Linked DNA regions of Homo sapiens: regions 2, 3 and 4 are each linked to region 1. The links are contacts of gene promoters, found by promoter capture Hi-C in blood cells and fetal thymus (Javierre and others, 2016). All regions are on one chromosome and are shown on one strand. The core of a region is centred on a gene start or on the middle of the fragment in contact, and the rest is flanking DNA. Distances in the headings are between cores, read along the strand shown.

Evidence for each region. The method cuts DNA at HindIII sites, captures the fragments that hold promoters and counts their contacts. A CHiCAGO score of 5 or more calls a contact.
Region 2: a fragment that was not itself captured here is called in contact with the fragment with the promoter of CASD1 in region 1 in 15 of 17 cell types (total CD8 T cells, naive CD8 T cells, fetal thymus and 12 more); the score reaches 16.8 in total CD8 T cells.
Region 3: a fragment that was not itself captured here is called in contact with the fragment with the promoter of CASD1 in region 1 in 2 of 17 cell types (M2 macrophages and M0 macrophages); the score reaches 8.6 in M2 macrophages.
Region 4: a fragment that was not itself captured here is called in contact with the fragment with the promoter of CASD1 in region 1 in 2 of 17 cell types (M2 macrophages and M0 macrophages); the score reaches 5.9 in M2 macrophages.

What each region holds. Positions count from the first base shown.
Region 1 is chr7:94,507,799-94,512,718 of GRCh38, forward strand. CASD1 (CAS1 domain sialic acid O acetyltransferase 1) reads left to right here and starts at 2,011. Exons shown (of 18, transcript NM_022900.5): 1 at 2,011-2,419. The coding sequence starts at 2,287. RefSeq lists enhancers at 1,296-2,284, 2,285-3,271 and silencers at 1,805-2,024, 2,065-2,214, 2,315-2,674. The HindIII fragment of the contact is 8,005 bases long and covers 1-4,756 here.
Region 2 is chr7:95,474,156-95,479,075 of GRCh38, forward strand. It overlaps a transcript of ASB4 not described here. Among named protein-coding and RNA genes, the nearest start is that of ASB4, 9.3 kb to the right of the region's middle. The HindIII fragment of the contact is 872 bases long and covers 2,580-3,451 here.
Region 3 is chr7:95,198,545-95,203,464 of GRCh38, forward strand. The region is part of intron 6 of PPP1R9A (protein phosphatase 1 regulatory subunit 9A); the gene reads left to right. The region is part of intron 1 of PPP1R9A-AS1 (PPP1R9A antisense RNA 1); the gene reads right to left. Among named protein-coding and RNA genes, the nearest start is that of PPP1R9A-AS1, 13 kb to the right of the region's middle. The HindIII fragment of the contact is 3,396 bases long and covers 1,337-4,732 here.
Region 4 is chr7:95,103,407-95,108,326 of GRCh38, forward strand. All of the region lies in intron 2 of PPP1R9A (protein phosphatase 1 regulatory subunit 9A), which reads left to right. The region is part of intron 3 of PPP1R9A-AS1 (PPP1R9A antisense RNA 1); the gene reads right to left. Among named protein-coding and RNA genes, the nearest start is that of PPP1R9A-AS1, 110 kb to the right of the region's middle. The HindIII fragment of the contact is 1,276 bases long and covers 1,503-2,778 here.

The sequences.
Region 1 (4,920 bases), core at 761-3,260:
ATTAAAAAAAAATTTTTTTTGGAGGAAGGCAAACAGCAAGGTGATAGGGAGAATTGGAAGACACAGAAAAAGAATGATTTGCATGGGGATAACTGATGGAGGAATCAACACCCTCAAGAAAGGAGGATAAGAAAAGATTCAGAGCAGAGGTAGAGAGATTGGCCTTAAACTTGAGAGAAGAAAAAGGAGGTTCACAAGCTATTTACAGTATTTAAGAAAGCCTTCTGGAAATTGCAATTAATAGAATGTCAAGTTTCTTTACTTTTTGCAGGCATTAACTCAACCCTTTGGGTTAACACTGGTTATTGCATGCTGATCAGAAATTCTAATTTGCTGGTAATGACATCATAGAAATGTCTAGGATGTGATTGGCAGACCATATATTGTTGGCAGAGTTATCTGGTTTTTACAATACCCAATTCTTACAACATGTGATCAACCTCTGATCAGAATGACAGCCAAAATTAAAAGACTATTTGCAGGGAACAGTGCCTAAGTGTTTGTACACTTATTTAACTTTATTGCTTATTAGCATTACATCCATGACAGTGATGTATGTGATTTCATTTAAGTGACAAAATCTTTCAAGATATAAAGTCCATGGATGAAAACATAATAAAGAGTCCTTGGATGAAGAGAATGGGAATGAGTAGACAAGATCTCTACAGTCCCTTCATATCTAATATTCTATAATTTTAAGAGGGGCCTATAAGCACAAGTTCAGGAATGGCTAAATGGGAAAGTTGTAAAGAATACTTGACAACACCCCAACTAAACAATGACTCACTCTAAACAAGGCAAGGCAAGTAGAATGGCAAGCAATGTAAATAACCATTCCCATCTGGAAGGCAACAAGAAAAACCATTTAAAAAAGGTGGGGTGGGAGCGAGAGGAGAGTAGGGATAACAATGCTTTATTAAGGAAATGGAGTGCTGGCTTTATTGAGAATCACAAAACATTAACCAACGTTAGTAGCGGGGATGATTGTCATAAGCACATTAAGAAAAATTTTTTTTGGCTAGGCTTGGTGGCTCATGCCTGTAATCCCAGCACTTTGGGAGGCCGAGATGGGCAGATCATTTGAGGTCAGGAGTTCGAGACCAGCCTGACCAAAATGGTGAAACCCCCGTCTCTATTAAAATACAAAAATTAAACGGGTGTGGTGGCGGGCGCCTGCAATCTCTGCTACTCGGCAGGCTCAGGCAGGACAACCATTTGAACCCAGGAGGGGGAGGCTGCAGTGAGCGAAGATCACGCCACTGCACTAGAGCTTGGGCGACAGGGTGAGACTCCCTCTCAAAAAAAACGAATTTTTTTGGCACATCGACCTAGCCAAACTTGCGTAAATACAAGTGAGAGTCAGACTCTTTTCTCATCAACACCTACACTAAGTTAGGCTCCTTCTGTACCTTCCATTCGGAACTTTGGTGTACTTTCGCCCACCAGAACTGGGCAAACTGAGGACATTAAAAAAACGGTTTAAGAGAAACTGGCCAGAGCGGTGAGTTAAGTGTTAAGACTGGTTTCACTCCTGGGTTGGATGCCAGCAATCCATCGGCCAGCACCATCAACTGGATCCATCAATCCAATCTGGCCAGCACCCAGGGGCAGCCAGACTGACCAGCCAGGCCACGGATAGCCAGACAATAAACGACCTTAGGGTGTCCTTCGCATCCCGCTGGGCGGGTTCTGGCAGTAGAAGGCTGAGAAAGGGGAGTGTTGGGGAAGGAAGGAATGGGACGATGTGTACTTTTCTCCCGGAACTGTAGTTCTATTGCCCCAACCTGGGCTCAGGTAGCGGCCAGTAAACTAGGAGACAGCCCTAAGGCTCGCGTCCGGGCCAGGCGGGTACCCCTAGTACTCTCTCCCCACACCCCCATGGCTCTGCCGCAGCCGCCGCCGCCCGCCGGGGCGCGTGACCCGGTGACCCCGGAGCACTGGGCATCCGGACCCCCCTCGCAGGCGCAGCCGCTATTAAGGCAGGAGGCTAAAGAGGAGGAGGAAGGGGAGGAGACAGGCGTCCAGGGCGCCTGGGGAACCGGCACGGCGGAGCAGCGGCGGCGGGGCTGGGGGGAGGCCGCCGAGTCGGCCGCGGCCGAGGAGGGGCAGGCGGAGGTCGGGGGCGCCGCGGCCGCGGGGTCAGGTTCCCCGGCGGGAGGCGCAGGTGGCGGCCTGGGGAGCTGGCGGCCGCTCCTCGCCTGGCTGCAGCGGCGGCAGCCCCAGTGCTGCCCCTGTGCGGCGCCCCTTTCCCGCTCCGCCGCGCACTGTTGTCATGGAGGAACCAAGATGGCGGCTCTGGCCTACAACCTGGGCAAGCGGGAGATCAACCACTACTTCAGCGTGAGGAGCGCCAAGGTGCTGGCGCTGGTGGCCGTGCTGCTGCTCGCAGCGTGCCACCTCGCCTCCCGCCGCTACCGAGGTGAGCGGGCCCTCCCCTCTGCCCGGGCAGGCCGTGGGGGAGGCGGCGACGCGGCGGCTGGAGGCCGCCCCCATCGCCCAACACACGCCCACGCGGCCTTCCGCCGGCCCGGCCCGCGGGGGAGGCGGTTCCCCCAGGTGTCCCCAGCAGCGGCCGGCGCCCGAGGCCAACTGAGTGGACCCCAGTGGGGGCCACCAAAGGACAATGGCTGGTGGTTCTGGGCGCCCCGAGCCGCCCGCGCTGGGGTCGGGGGCGCCAACCCTGGACCTGGCCAAAAGTGCTGCTGAGGTCCGGCTCCTGAGCGGTCTGGGTTCGGGGAGACGCTCCAGATCAGGGGCTCGCGTGCAGGAAGTCGGACAGGCGGTCCTTGGGGGCAGCCCGGGGCGCATGAAGCCCAAGGCCGCCCTGCAAGGGGCACCGCTGCCAGCAGTGGGGTCGCAGGTCCTGCCTCTTAAGGGTCCGGCTCCTTAGCCTTTGTTTAATTTTGCCTCTGCCCTGTAACACCCAGTCTGGGCTGTTGGACAGCGGCAAGGGCCGCCCCCATTTTCCTTTGCCAAAAGGGCGACAGCTGGCAAAAGATGCCTGTGGCCAAATGGAAGAGGTGCCACCCAGCTTTTGTGATGCAGAAACGTTTAAAGGCTTCGGAGTGCACACTTTTTACAAAGTTAAGGCACCAGAGCAGATTTTTGGAAGGAAGTTGTGGGTTGACAGGCGTAAAGGTGGGCAGTTGAAAGCAAGTTGTAAGCACTTTGAAAGCAGGCCTTGGCCATGGGTTTTGAAATTGGTGTAAAGGGGAAAAGGAAATATGACCTGATTTGAGAATGAATTATCTTTCAGTAATCAAGGGATATTTACTTCTCCTTGCTGATTGATTGTTTTTTTTCCTTTGTAAAAATGTCACTGGGAGAGAGGCTGACAGGCAGAGGGAAATTAATAATGATAGGATCTTTTATTTTTGGCTCTTAATACTATCAAAGCCATTATCTGGCCAGCTCTTGGTGACTGTGAGATTAATCAGTCAAGATGTAATGTGTAATGGACAGGTGCAAATTAGCGCTGTGCCCGTTTAAATTTACACCTACTTTGGCAAAATATCCATAAACGGGTTGTTGGAGTCTGCGCTGTATTCTCATCCCAGGAGATCTTTCAATTTTGGTCAGTTTTGCTGCTTTATTTCTTCCAACTCTTGAGAATTAAAAATATTGTACTCTAGAGCCATACTGGGTGAACAGCTTTTAGTATACTAAATTGATTTTAAAAATTAGATTCTTTATAACCTTTTGGCCTCTCTCCAGCTCTCTCCAGATCACAGCCATACGACCTTGCAAGGCCTTGGTTTATCTACAATCATGTAAAACTAGCAATGTTGATGCATTGATTTGTGGTGGTTTTGAGGAAATATTTCTTTTAACTACTATTAATCATTTTATGCCAATTTGGTATAAAAGAACAGTAATTTAATTCAATTTATGTAATGGTAGTAGAGAGAAATTTTATAACTACAGTACTATTGTCCTAAGATAAATAAACATCTAGTCCCCTTCCTTTTATTTTTTTGTGCTTTTTATCTTTTGATAACCTTGGACTACTATTATTTTTAGATTATAGATTTCATCTTATCAAGATCTGTCATCAGCAGGGAGAATAGAATGTCAGATGGGGACTTATGAGTCAGTGTAGCAATCTGGGATTGTTTATAAAGCCTTCTCCAGAAGTAAGTCATCAGTTTCCATAGGTACTTCAGTGCCTTGAGTGTGAAGCATACACCTGGTGAGTGTACTTGCCCAGACTGAATGTCAAGAATTTGAGCTGAAGACTGGGAAAAATAAACATCTTACCAGGAATATCCTCATGCTTTGGCAGTATCAAACTGAGTCAGGTGCAATGCCCTTCACACAAAGATAATCATACATTTGACTCACATTATAACTCTTTAGGACAGAGGTGGCCAATCTTTTGGCTTCCGTGGGCCCCATTGGAAGAAGAAGAACTGTCTTTGGGCCACACATAATATTAACACTCATGATAGCTGATGAGCTTAAAAAAAATTGCAAAAAATCTCGTATCATTTAAAGAAGGTTTACGAATTTGGGCTGCATTCAAAGCCATCCTGGGCCTCCAGCAGCCCAGGCCATGGCTTGGAAAATCTTGCTTTAGAATAAGAAAGGATCTTACATTAGATGAAGGAGATTAGGCTGTGTATTTGGATTTTGAATGTGTGAGTATGAGTGTGCTGAGGCAAGGTAGAGTGAATGCAGTTTGGATATACATATTCAGTATCTCTTGCTTTACAAACTACCGAAAGTAAAGGAAAGAATTACCCACTACAGAAAGTAAAGCTTGGCGAATACTGTGTGCTAACGTTGAGCACTTATATGTCAGGGACTGTTCTACTAAAGGTTTTACATGTTTTAACTCATTTTGTCTTTATAACCATTCTATGAGGTAGATACAATTACCATATTTCACTCCTCTCCACTATTTTTAACATCTTTGTAATC
Region 2 (4,920 bases), core at 1,766-4,265, 970 kb after region 1:
TTCTGACTTCAAATTAGCGAATATGCATATGTGCTGAACTTTAGTCTTTTCCTTTTCTTGAACATTCAGTTTAATAATTGTCTCTGCCATTTTACACATTTATTTTTCTTGGCTATTTATATTTTCCTTTTGGGGAGGTCAAATATAAAAATAGGATATACATGGACTGTAGCAGTTGATAATAACTTGTGTGCTTTGATTTTTTAAAGAACCAAAATTTACCAAAAGGGATCTTGCTCACTTATCAATTTGTTTTTTTTATATCTCTGTTTTTGTACATATCTTTTAAGTTATTCCAGACCCTGACAACTGGACACCTGGTTATGATTGCAGAATGTGCAGTTTAAAATCCTATTTTAAAACTTAGTTTTTGTTTTTCTTTTTGAGACAGGGTCTCATTCTGTCATCCAGGCTGGAGTGCAGTGGTGCAATCACGGCTCACTGCAGCCTTAACCTCCTGGGCTCAAGCAATCCTTCTACCTCAGCCTCGTGAGTAGCTGAAACTACGGGCACATGCCACCATGCCAGGCTAATTTAAAAAAAAATTTTTTTTAGAGATGGGTGTCACCATGTTGTCTAGGCTGGTCATGAACTCTTGGGGCTCAAGCAGTCCTGCCTCAGCTTTCCAAAGTGCTGGAATTATGGCATGAGCCACCATGCCTCATCTAAAAATTAGTTTTTATATCATTATGCATACCATGTTTTCAACAGTAAAATGGTTTTACCCCAAATAGGCATGTAGTTAAGGTAAAAATTATCTGATGTTACTGATCATTGAGATTTAGAAACAGTAATTAAGGAGGAGGGATTCAGGAGATACTTTTGCAATATGATCCTTAGGATGAGGTGGCTTTCTATACCCTGGCAAATGTTCTGTAGAGCCTATAGACAAGCTGTTTTTTATGTATAGTGCCTAGACCAGCAACACTGGCATTTAACAAGAACTCAGATCTCACTCATACTCTGTCAGGTGTGACCCAGCAGTCTGTGTTGTAACAAGCCCACCAGAGGACTCTGAAGTACCGAAAAATTTGAGAAGTGCTGTCATAATCCAGGCTGTCAATAGAATAGGTAGGGTCATATACTATACACTCACTACACTATAGCCAATGACCATCTTTCCTTACATAGTCCCTCCCCACGCCCACCTGGATGTAGAATTTAGAAGTAAAATCACAACCTAGAATATTGGCAGTGGTCAGTGACTCCCCATTGCAGGTTGAATTTAATTAATTAATTATTTTTTGAGATGGAGACTGGCTTTGTCACCCAGGCTGGAGTGCAGTGGCTCAATCTTGGCTCACTGCAACCTCCACTTCCCAGGTTCAAGCAATTCTCCTGCCTCAGCCTCCCGAGTAGCTGGGACTACAGGTGCGTGCCACCACACCTGGCTAAGTTTTGTATTTTTAGTAGAGATGGGGTTTCACCATGTTGGCCAGGCTGGTCTCAAACTCCTGACCTCAGGTGATCCACCCACCTCAGCTTCCCAAAGTGCTGAGATTACAGGCATGAGCCACCGTGCCCGGCCTTGAATTTATTTAATAGCTAAATTGCTCTACTTGCATTCAAGGTCTTCTGTCTTTATAAAACCAAATCATGTATTCCAGTGTCATCTTCTATTTTTCCTGCTCATATTCTTTATCTTTTAGTAAAATTAGATGGCCATTCTCTCCCCCATCTCTAATCCTTGCCATGAGCTGGCAAGGTTGTGAAGAATCTTTACTTAGTTAAGATTTATGGGGTGCCTTCCTAAATGGCATCACAGTGTAAACAAAGAAATCAAATCACCTGAACTTTTCGGTCTCTATATATCAAGATCCCAAGATCCTATTTCAAATACCATTTCCTCTGTGAAATCTTTCTTGATTCCTCAAACCGAATGGTGTGATCTTTCCTTTTTATAATGCCAGCTCCCTGTGTTTCGTATTTCTGGCACAGTAGATTCTGGTCTGCCTTATTGTATAACCAGTATGGTCTAATTTCATTCGTCTATAAGTTCTTGAGATTGGGGCTGAATCCTACACATCTGTCGGTCCCTACTACACCTATCACAGTGTCAGACACCTAATAATAACTCAGTCAATAGTGTTCAAATTGTGGTATGCAGCGGCAAGGCTTCCAGCCCAGCCCAGAGTCATCGGATAGCTTTCAGCCAAGGCTGTTAGCTGTGTGAGGTAGGTGCGTATTGCATGCTTGTCCCAAAATATTCTCTTGCAGGTGACTGACATTCTTTTTTATATTTAAAAAAAAATTTATAGAAAGCTCACAGCCCATGTTTAAAATACAAAATTCACCTATGAGAAATCAAGAAATGGAAGGAAGATCTAGAGGACAAGCCTAGCTCTTTTACCCCCTGGAGCAATCAAGGGGCAGCTACAGACACTAGAAAAGACCAGGGCTGGGAAACGGGAACAATATCTTTGATTTCACAGTCTTGCCTGGGGCCTTGACTGACAGTAGCTGCTGCTTTAACCTCCATCTGTGGCTTCACGCCTTTTTAGAAAGGACTCAGGAAATCACACTCTGGTCTTATAGGGAATATTTTCAGCCTAGGAGAAAAATTGTGAGCATGAGAAGCAAGCTTGTCTTGCTTTCCCACACCCAAAGACAGAGACTCATAAGACAACGGTCTGTAAAGAATCTGGAGACACATGGTATGAAACATTTTTAGCTTATTATTTTGAATGTTCTTCTTAATACCATTGTAGCAAAAACAAACAATAAAGGGACAACCCACTCCTCCTCCAAACAATGTTTAATTTATGTATTTGTTAGATACATATTGAAATTTATTTTATGAAATCATAAACCAATAGCAAATTCTCAGTAGAGAAATTCATTGTAGGAAAATATGATCAGGAAAGATATGGTTTACGTGGATTAAAACAAAATTTTTAAAATCCATATTTGTGGTTTAACCTGGATCACGTTTTATCCGCATTGGCTTGGATTTTTTTTTTTTCCCCAGGATACTGCAGCTGTTCTTCCGGGTTCATTTATCGAGGAACACTGCCATCATGTGGCCTGACGTGTTAACACAGTCCCTAAAAGACAACTAGCAGCACGGTTTTAATTTTGATTCTCTCTCTAGAAAAACGTTTGTGGCTTTAAAATGTGCTTCGTTATTTGAAGCTGTGTTTGTTAATACCTTTCTGAAATGGCATCCTTAAAATATTTGCCAAAGGGTCAACTCTACGTCACCTTTTGAATTTCTCAAGTATATAGTTATCACATCAAAAAATATATAAAATAATAATTGAACATTGCTCATTTTATAAATTTGTCAAGTTTTCACAAATTTATCTACTGTAAAAAGAGTGGAATGCTTTGCTTATATACACTAGTGTGGCTGCTTATTTTTTCTTTACACTATCAGTTTAGGGAGAGGAGATGCAAAACTATAGAAAACTACAGAAAGGCAGCGTTGTGTAGTTCAAAAACTAAAGTATGAAGCTTGACATTAGGTTGGAGACTTCGCTTTGCGACTAATTAATTATGCAATTTTGTGCAAACATGTAAGTGAGATGGCCTCAGTACTTTTTTTCTTAAATGAGAAGATTTGATACCCTTAACAAGAACCTTTTTTTTTTTTTTTGCTATAATTCTGTGATTCTACAAGCAAAATTAAGTTCTTTTAAAAAGCAAGAGTGTTGTTTCTCTTTAGGTATACTATTTTTCTATGGTTTTCTGAAAATATGTGCCCCCTTTCTCTCCACTCCTCTTTCCCATTCCTAACTGCAGCTTTGTCTGCAAATTTGTTGTGCAATTTTTTTTTTCCTGCAATATCCCATAGTTTTGGTGTTGTGTTGAGGATTGCTCCTTCATGAATTAGATACTTCCATAGTATAAAATAAAACTGATGAATCTTTGCAATTGGTAAACAACTTATTGGCTTCTGACAACTGTGGGTGTAAAAAGAACGTTACAGAGGACAGTCCAATTTCTTTACCCCTTAAAAGGGAAGGATAATTTTTTTTTCTTACTGCACCTCTGCATCATAAATTTGTCAAAAGTAAAAAGAGGATGCAAATGCTGCCTGGAGTACAATTGTGAGGTAAATGTTCTGAAGAGACAAAATTATGGTAAATTATTCCCTCGAGTTGATGTTGTGAAGTGTGTAACTGGGTGAGGGATGGAAATACAAGCTGGTGTTGATGTTTAAACTGTGCTGGACGGCGTGTAAATGCAGGTCAGTTGCTAGGAGACCTGGAACACAGAGCTAATGCCCCCTCTGTGGGGCAGGGATGTTTGATCTGAAAAAACCTTGTCTTTCACAGTCAAAGATGACGTGAAATGAATAGTCTGTCAAAATTCAGGTGGGCCAGTGCTTGGTTACTGCTTATGTCAATCCAGCCATTCTGACATCCACCACCTGTAAAGAGAGTCGCTGAAACGGAACAATCTAGCATCGTGCCAGCGACCAAGATTCTCCGGAAACACTCAGGGTAATTAGCTACGAATTCTTTAAATACTCTTACATGAAAGGCAGCTGGTTTGTTCGCTGATATGGGATCCAAGAAGTGGGCAGTAGCGGCTAAATAATTACTTCAGCATTCCAAAGAGAGGGATGCCAGGCCACAAATAGAGTTCCAAGCGAAGATGTGCTTGCGTAGGACTTTGGACCCTCCCGTTTACAAAGCAATCATTTCTGCCATTTGTGAGGATTGTTGAACAGATTTTATGTTAAACACACATGCTCCCAGTATGTAATTACAATTGAGAATGAATACGCCGAACTTTAGCGCTGAAGCATCTTAGCAGTTCTTCCAGCGCCCCCAACTGCTTGAAGACAGAACCTGAATCAGTCTGTGGACAAGGGCAGCCCATAACATGGCTGCCACAGGGAAGACTTTCAAAAAATCTCAGCAAGGTCTTCTGCCCTTGCAAAATGGTATTAATCTTTGCCAATGTCCAGGACAC
Region 3 (4,920 bases), core at 1,785-4,284, 690 kb after region 1:
CTGTATAACAGTATGACAGGTTTTATGCAGTTTCTTGAGGAAGGTGTGTCCACATTGAACTAAAATTCTACCTTAGAAAAGAAATACTACTCGCATCTGATATACGCTTAAGAATCAAGTCATGGTATCCTGTTTACAGTATGAAGACTGTGGACACAAATAAGTCTTATCTTTTGCACTATTATAAAGGAAGTCATAGAAACAGAAAAGGATAAAAACACAAAAATGTGAATAATGTCATCTTTATTGGTGGAATTGGGTGATTTTCTCTCTCTGCTTTATATTTTTTCAATCTTTTCCAAATGTTCTACAATAGTATGTAATGCTTTTCCAAAAAATCAGTAAACACACCCATACACAAACAAATATACATAGAAAAGTACTAAAGATTGCTGAGTGTTTCCAGTGTCTTTTTCCCCCAGGAAGAAAAAGTTCTTTGGATCTGCTTACTATGATTTGTGCTAACATAATGCAGAACAAAGCTTTCCACTAGCACATGTTCCATAGAGCAGATACATATTGGAATAATTTTACATCCTGCTTTCTGTAAAAGATCAAGTAAATGAATAGAAGCTAACCCCCAAGTGAAAACAGCTCTCCAGAACCCTTGTGTGCTGTAATATAATACAGATGCTGGTCTATTTCTAATGTCTTTGAAATGTACATTGATATAATGGGACAACATGCTTTATTATAAACACGTTTAAACATTCATGTGTTTCATATTGGTGTGTCAAAAGATCCATCAACAATTTAATTGTAGTATTTTATACTCCATAAACTAGTACATATTCAGGTAAAACAAATATTCTTCATTCCAGCTAATATAACCACAGTGAAACTTCATGTATTCAACCCCTTCTTATCTGAATATATAATTTTTCAGAATTTTGCTTTCTAGCCAGGATATAGATATTAATAAACAGACATTCAAATATTTTCACATATTTTTAATCTGAGATGTTTTAATCCCAATGTATATTAAGATCTCATGAATATGTGGTATAATGAGGATATATTCTCCACTTATAGCAGAAAATTAGAGGTGGTATATCCGTTAACTTTTGATCAAAGAATAATATATTAGAAATCCTTTAAATGAATGAATTAGACTCTTAGAACTTGATTTAATTTATTTTCTTACTTGGTGAGTCCATTTGAAATGGCAAGTATATTTTCATTACACTGAGATATTTTGTATGAAAAATGTTCTCTTGAATTTTCAAACTAAAAAAGGGATTTCCTCAAATATTTTGAACTTGTATCTTACCTGGTTTTCAATTCTTTACATTAGTATTTTGTATTTTATCAGAGACACTGATTTGCTTTTGCTGCAAGCTTATTCTGAGATTGTAGAATCATTTTCTGCAGGTTTGATTTTTGCGTCCTCACTGTGCTAGGATTTTTGGTCTTAGGTTCAGGGGAGTACAGTGACATCAAGTGGTGGAAGGGGACATGGCCAGGCTTTCTAGTCTGTGTGCCTTGGTGTCTTTGGCATGAAAGCACAGGGATTGGGCTAGATCACAAAATTCCTTCCAGCTTCTAATGTTCCATGAATATGAAATAAGACATCAAGTCTAACAAGCAGAGGGGGCAAAGAAAGAAGATAGTCACATTTTTAAGGCACTCCAAGTAAAACATTTAGATCACAGACCACACATTTTCTGCAGGTATTTTGAGGCGCTGATCACATTCATCCCCAAAAGTTGATATAAAATTTTGCTCTTTTTTTTTTTTTACGACACAGGGTCTTGCTCTGCCACCCAGGCTGGAGTGCAGTGGTGCAAGCATAGCTCACTATATCCTTGAGCTCCTGGGCTCAAGCCAACCTCCTGCCTTGCCTCAGCCTCCTGAGTAGCTGGGGCAACAAGCACACAGAACCACATCCTGCTAATTAAAAAAAAAAAATTTTTTTTTTATAGATGAGGTCTCACTATGTTGTCCAGGCCTGTCTTGAACTCCTGGCCTCAAGCAGTCCTCCTGCCTCAGCCTTCCAAAGTGCTGGGATTACAGGTGTGAGCCACCCTACCTGGCCCAGATTTTTCTTTAACTTGATAATTGGAATAGATGGAAAAAGAATAGTTTTTACTTGACATTTATACTTAGGAATGTATCACATCTTAAATGGAAGATTGTTTATAGATTTTTTTTGTTTGCCTGTTTTTGTAAAGTAATCAGAGTTGTCACCTGAGCAGATATTTTCAGGGGCAAGGAAATTAAGTAAATATTCAGTGGCAAGCACTTTGCAAGGTGTCTTTCTTACATGATCTCATTTAATCTTTAATGCAGCCAGAAGAGATTTTCTTTTTTTCCCTAGAAATGCAGCAACTGAGGTTTTTTTCTAGTGGTACATCCAGTAGCTGGCAGAGTTGAAATTGGAATAAAGTCTTGCTGGCTCCAAAGCCTGGACTCTTTGCAACACACTGTGCTGTTTTTGAGTAGCATGTAAGAACACTCCTGCAGACACAGAATAACTGGGTAACAAAAGATGTTAAGAGAATTACTGTTTGCGGTGATGGAGTTTAGGTTCTATGATTCTTTGTTCTGTATTTCTAATAATAGGGAAATCAAGTCTTTGGATAATTATTTTCTCTATGCAACAGTCCATAAGAATCATCTTTATAGAGTTTAAAGAGAAGAATAATTGAGTACTCAAATTTTTTTTAATTAGTTTAGCTTTAAGTTAAACTGTTTTTCTTTCTGCAAGTTGTAGAAGTAAAAACGAGGTGCTTGCTATGTTACTCCAAGTAACTCACTTTATGGAAAAAAGTCAAGGAGACTTCTCCTTTGTATCTGTCTCTCATCCTCTGTGACTTGGGTTTTTTCCCTTTCTTGTATGTTACACACTGCCTCAACAAAACATGCCCAGATAAAACCAACTGTTAATTTTCAGTGCATAGGAGAGATGAAAGCTGTACAAATAGTGAAAATCCACTCCAATGTTAAAACTTCAAATTGTCACTTGATTCAAATTCTTTTTTCTAATGCTGAAAAAATTATTAAATGGATTGATTTGAGTGCTTTTTCCCTATTTTCTATTTACTCTCTGTCTTTCTTTGTGAATGAAGAATAAAATGTCCAAGAGGCATAAAGGAAATGAGAAGAACAAATATTGGATAGCTAATGGATAAATGCTCCTTGAATAATTGAGTTAATTTCATATATAATTGAACAATTTATTGATTAGTATATCTTTGTTAATCAGTCACTTGGTTTTTTTACTTTTATGATTTATAGAATCATCTTGTGATTTCAAAGTTAGAGTTATTTTTATTTGACAGTATCTCCTGTGACATTCCCTGCACCAGCCAGGAAAACCTCCATTTAGATACAGAACAACCAAGTTCATCCAACTGATTTCCAGAGCCAGCTCTTAGTCAGCATTTTCTGCTGAAGGATAGATAGCTTCTGTTTTTGATCAAATCATCCAAAGTTGATTGTAACTTGGAACTTGTCACATTGACAGAGGGTATTTGCTTGCTTGCATTCACTACATGGAAAACATCACAATGGGAGAAATAGATCCTGAAATTATAAACCTACAGTGGAGCTCTAAAAACTATATTGAGAAAGATTAACTTACAATATATTGCTTATGCTTAGACATATCTGTTTCAATGCTTTAGGAAATTATAAGTCATACTCTAGTAGAATTTAAGCTATGTAGATAATTTTCAAACTATTTAAATTTCTGCTTTTTCTGTTTTTTTCTTCCTCTACATCTTTAGAAGGGTTTAAAATAAGCAAACAGCCAATTTTATTTTAATTTGCATCCCTGTTTTTGTTTACTCTCTGTTAAACATTCTGATTAAAAAAAAATGTTAAAATGGCTCTGCCTAAAAGCTGTAGAATAAAAAGGAGGATCCTATTTAAGAAGAGGGAGATGAATATTTGAACAATTGAAAAATTTTAAATGTATATCTGAATATATCTGTGATTCATGATTTAATTTCTGTTTAATCGAAGTATTGATCACTTGTTTTTTTTTTCTTTCTTTCTCTTTTCTTTTTTTTAATAATCTGAAAGGTTGCCATGGAGGATTTCAATAAATCTCTCAGACAATCAGCACTATTTCATGACACTCGGGGGGTATGATAAATTTTTCAACTAGAATTTAACTTTTTAGTAACATTTAATCTCTTGTCATACTCCACCACTATCAGTTTGTAGCCTTTTAGTAGTGAGATGATGTAATTATGGTATATATTTTGTGTAGTGTGTATATATTATGAGTATTTTTTATTTAAGAGCATTATGCCGTTTGAAATGCTGCAGGCTTAGACTGGAAATACAGTATGAACTAGTGCTATATTCCATTTTTGAGTTAGAAAATAGGTATGGTCATTGAAATTAAAATAAAGTATTACACTTTAAAAATTATGATTATTTGGCTTCCTTAAATATTCTTTTAAGATATAGTATTTGTTACATTGTAAAGTCTTAGCTATAGATAGCATTTCAAAGTCTCCTTAGGCAGTAGTTCATAAGAAGGTTAATCATCACTCCAGAAACTGAAGCCCCTTCTATACTGAAGCCCCTAAAATATAATTTAATCTTTCTTTCATAATTTGTTTTCATTACTGGAAATTAATATCATTATAACAATATTATAGCAACTTTTTTTTTAGAATCTTTTAAAGTATTGAATACAGTTTAGAGTAGCTGCCCTCATGGGTATGGTTTTTTATTGCTTGTGTTAGCATGTCATAATTAGAGGCAAAAATATAATGGAAGCTTTGGTTTGCATAAGTATTAAAAGGTATACAATAATATAATATTTATGTTATAAAAAGTGTTAGAGGGATAACATTAAGTTTGACTCATACTGTTTGCCATTCCTAGTTGGAAACAGCTTGTGTGTGTAAACAAGAGAATGCAATTATTATGGTTGGCCTTTTAATAATGTGAATATAATAATGT
Region 4 (4,920 bases), core at 891-3,390, 600 kb after region 1:
CTGGAGTCTGGAGTGCAGTGGTGCGATCTTGGCTCACTGCAAGCTCCGCCTCCTGGGTTCATGCCATTCTCCCGCCTCAGCCTCCTGAGTAGCTGGGACTACAGGCACCTGCCATCACGCCCAGCTAATTTTTTTGTATTTTTAGTAGAGACGGGGTTTCACCGTGTTAGCCAGGTTGGTCTAGATCTCCTGACCTGGTGATCCGCCTGCCTCGGCCTCCCAAAGTGCTGGGATTACAGGCGTGAGCCCCCACGCCCAGCCCAACTTCTTGTTCTTTAGTAATCCATTAAAACACTAGGCTTACAATTAGTGAAATGTACTTTTTGTCCTAATAGACTTTGTCTTATATATAGCATGTGTATTGTCCTCTGAACTTCTCGTGTAAAAATATGAAAAACCGTGGGAACTCTCTTTACCCTTTTCTGCCTTACTCCCTAGATTGGTTGGTAAAGAGATAATTTGTGTAAAGTGCTATATTGTCTATAATTTAAAGTACTTTGGCATATATAACATAATATTTATGGGAGTAACTTTGTTTTAGGACCCTTTAGTTAATTTTCTAGGTATTTCAATCATGAATCCACACACTAGGATTAGTAAGTTATTATTTGAAAGACACTGATTAGAAGCCTGCACCCAGATATTGGTACTTTAAATCTACACAAGACAATGTATTAACGTTAAGTATGCTACAAATAATTGGTGAAATGAATGATGTTGAAGATACAGGGGTTAGCCTTAGAAATATTTTATGTAACTAGACTTTGGGTCAGGCGAGGCTTGCAGATTAACAGCTTTTGGAGTAATAACCTAACTAGTACTCCATTTGATCCTGTTTTGTGGTATGTAGGATTCTGGTGAGTGATCCACTTAGAAGGTTAAATGTATCCTACTGTAGAATGTAGTTGCAACTGCTTTAAGTAAACCTTTCACACAGGCTACTTTTCAAAATGACTTTTAAGGACAGAAATCTGGGATTTTAGAGTTTTATGAGATAGGCCTATGAGTCTGTTTTTTGCACCTTCCAGTTAAGCAATGTTTTTACATGAGCAGAATTTAGTTTGAAATTTCTTTTCATTGTAACATACTCCTTATGTTAAAAGCTTGCAGAGGAGTAGACTAAAGCCCTCAGCTGTTTACATCTTTGGAGACTACCAGTGTTTACCCTAAATTGTCTGATGATTATAAACTCCAGTTTGGCTTACTTCATTTTGCAGCAAGCACCTAACATACTCCCGGGCACACACTGGACAATCAATACACTAGATAATTCTACCTATTGTCGATCAGTGAACTAACCTTAATTTGGGGGAAGAAAAGGAAAGTTGAGATTATACATTGCTCTAAAGCTATTAGAATCCTCCTTTGTGAGGCTTGCCAGGTTGGTTTTTGGAATGTTAATATGTGGCTATCTTCTCCAGGCTTATTGTTAGTTTCAATTTAGAGCTTATTTTGCAGAGCCACTGAAATCATGTGAAGGTGAGTCAGGGTTCTGCCAAGGAAGCTTGTGATGAGTGTAACCTGTTTGTGGAAGCATGTGAATGTTTGGCTTATCTCCAGGAGCACACTTTGCTAGCCATCATCTGAAACTCAGCATGCTAGGACCTGGAACATTTTTCATCTTTGATGTGTCAGGAAGATTTTACAGAACCTGGACCATAGCCTGAACTGAGACCGTGTGGAAGCATTGTGGGAGATTCCTTCCAGTCAGTATTTATAGAATATGCTGAATTTATTTAGACCTGCATTGATTAAAGAAAATGTGTCATAAAGAAGTGAAGGAAATAAGTTTTTTTCTTATTGTTGAAAATGTATTGCTGCTGTTTTGAAAAAGTGTTGTGGTTCAAACTACTGAAAATGTATATAAGATAATGATTCTAGTTGAAATCTTAAAATAAGCTAATTTTTACTTTATTTGCTTTTCATAGCCTTGGGTTGTTCGTTCAGAAATGTCCTTGCTAACCGTGTTTGTAAACTTGTTACCCCTGAAAGCCTGTCTCTGCTGTGAAGCAGTGGATGAGGTCTTGTTTTGTTTCCTTTGATCGAGAAACCAGAATATCACTTATTGGCTCTGAAACAAGAAGTCTTAAATTTAAACATCTTTTGTTTACTTTTCTCAGTGAAATAAAACAGGAACAATGTGAAGGTAGCTTGAACTACAAAAATACATATATCTTGTTGGTGTTGAACATTAGGACTCAGAATGCTGTTGGCCTTTAGAGTTTTTTGTGTTGCTGGAATACCAGGAGGAGTCATGCTCTGATTATTATCTGATTAATTATCCATTTTTTTGTAGAGCAATTAAGGTTAATAAAAATAATAGAACTATTGTAAGAAAATGGAAAGAATCAAGATCATGTAGATGAAAGGGCTTCCTGGTCAGAGAAAACACAGAAAGCCTGGCAGGCCATGAGCCATTGTGTAATGACAGTGCATTGCTCTAGACATAGGTGGGGATTTTGGCAGCCTAATCTATGTTCTAATACTAAGTCAGTTATGCAGATTTTTGCTTAAAGGGCATTAAACATCCTAGTGGGTGATATATTCAAAACATGTTTATGAAAGAGAGTATGAGGCTGGGCTCATGCCTATAATCCCAGTACTTTGGGAGACCAAGGTGGAAGGATCGTTTGAGGCCAAGAGATCAAGACCAGCCTGTGCAATATGGTGAGACCCCAATCTCTATTAAAAATGTTTTTAAATTTAATTTAAAAAAAGAGAGTATGATATGGGTAGTAGGTATCAGGGGAAATATTATCCCTCATATTACCCTGAGAAAGCTTTTCCTCTCCCCTCATTGAACCAAGCATAATTACATGGACTATTTCATTTTATTTTCCTAATACTCTTATGGGGATAGGCATTATTATAAAAACCATTTTGTAAATAAGGAGACTGCGCCTTAGCATGGTTTTACAACTTGGCAAGTGCTACATAGCTAGGGAATTTAGGGGGCTTTAAATTAGGTTAAAATTGGGACCATACCAATTGGGGATCGTATGAATTGGGAATATCTTTCTCTTTATCTGCAGCATGCTCTTCAGCTTAACGATGTATGTATCTTGGGGTCTTCCATGTCAGTAGAGAGATATACATCTCTTCAATCACTGCATTGAATTACATATTTGTATATATCATGATTTAGCAAGCCATTTTCTCTACTGGTGGACAATTAGGCAATTTCCTGCTTTGGGCTATTACAGATAGTGCTGTAATGAACTTCTTTTGAAATACATCTTTGTACACATTTGCAAGTATTTCTGTAAACACTTAAATGTGACATGATTATGTAAAAGACATTTACATTTAAAATATTGATAACTACTTTCTAGTTATGCTTTCCTCTTCAAAAGTATCCTTTTTTTCTATATCCTCACAAACACTGGATGTTGTAGTCTTTTTTTTGTTTGTTTTTTTGAGTCTTATTATGTCACCCAGGCTTGAGTGCAATGGCATGATTTTAGCTCACTGCAACCTCTGCCTCCCAGGTTCAAGCAATTCTGCCACAGCCTCCCGAGGTGCACGCCACCACGCCCAGTTAATTGTTGTATTTTTAGTAGAGATGGGGTTTCGCCATGTTGGCCAGACTGGTTTCAAGCCCCTGACCTCAAGTGATCGGCCCTCCTAGATCTCACAAAATGCTGGGATTACAGGCATGAGCCACTGTGTCCTGCCTGGATGTGGTAGTCTTTAAAAAAAATCTATTCTTATGGATGAATGCATAGTATCTCCTTGTTTTAATTTGCATTTGCTTAATTTTTAATAAAGCTGAACATCTTTATATCATTAATTGGACATTAGTATTTCTTCTTTGTTCAATTCTCAATTTCCTTTACCTACTTATACATGCAATTGTTTGAGTTGATAAAGCCCTTTATATATTAGGAATATTCATGTTTCATCTTAATATTTGGTCATACTTTCTGCTAATCTGTGACTTTTCTTCTAACTTCATTATGGTATATTTTATTGCCTAGAAGTTTTTGGGCTTTATTTTTAATCAAATTATTTATTTCCTTTAGAACTTCTAGGATCTGTGAATTTCTTTCTAACCTGTTAGCTAAACATTGTCCCAAATTTTCTTTTGGCACTTTTTATATATGTATATATTTTTGTTCTGAATTGTATTTTTCTTTGTGATATAAATAGGAATGTTTTTCAGATAGGTATCTAATTCTTTTCATAATTTATTAAATAGACCACTCTAATTTGAATAGAAAAGGAGTGGAACAGAATAGAATATAAAAATGGATCTATCCCAGAGCTCAAACTATATTGCCTTAATAAGCGAAGTTTTATTATGTGTTTTGATATCCACTAGGGCCTGATTCTACCCTTATTCTTTTTCAAACTGCTTGTTAGTTTTCACGAAAAATGTAGGTAGGATTTTATTTTTTATTGTCTTGAATTCATAAATTAACTTAGGGTAAACTGATATTTACAGTTATTTAGAAATGTGGATGTCTTTATAATATTAAGGATTTTAATCCAGGGAAATAATATGGCATTGCACTTTCTTCAGGGCTTTTTGTACTCATCACTTAGTTTTATAGAGAGAAAAATGCTTGTACATTTATGGTTGGTAATTACTAAGTGTTTTATTGTTTTGATCATTTTGTTGTATTTTCTAAGTTTTTGTATATAGGTATTGAGTTTTAAAAGTTACATCGCTTTACTGAACTCTTATTAGTTCTAATACTTTTTCTGTTAAAGCTCTTGGATTTTCCAAGTAATCAGTTGTTTAATCTGCAAATAACGACTTCTGGCTTTTCTTTTTCAATAATTTGCAGTGTTTTCTGCATGCCTACTTAATTTACAAGCCTATAAGTAAGCTGAAGATGAAGAGTGTATTACATTATTTTCTTTTTCTTTTTCTTTTCTTTTCTTTTTCGTTTCTTTTCTTTTTTTTTTTTTTTTTTT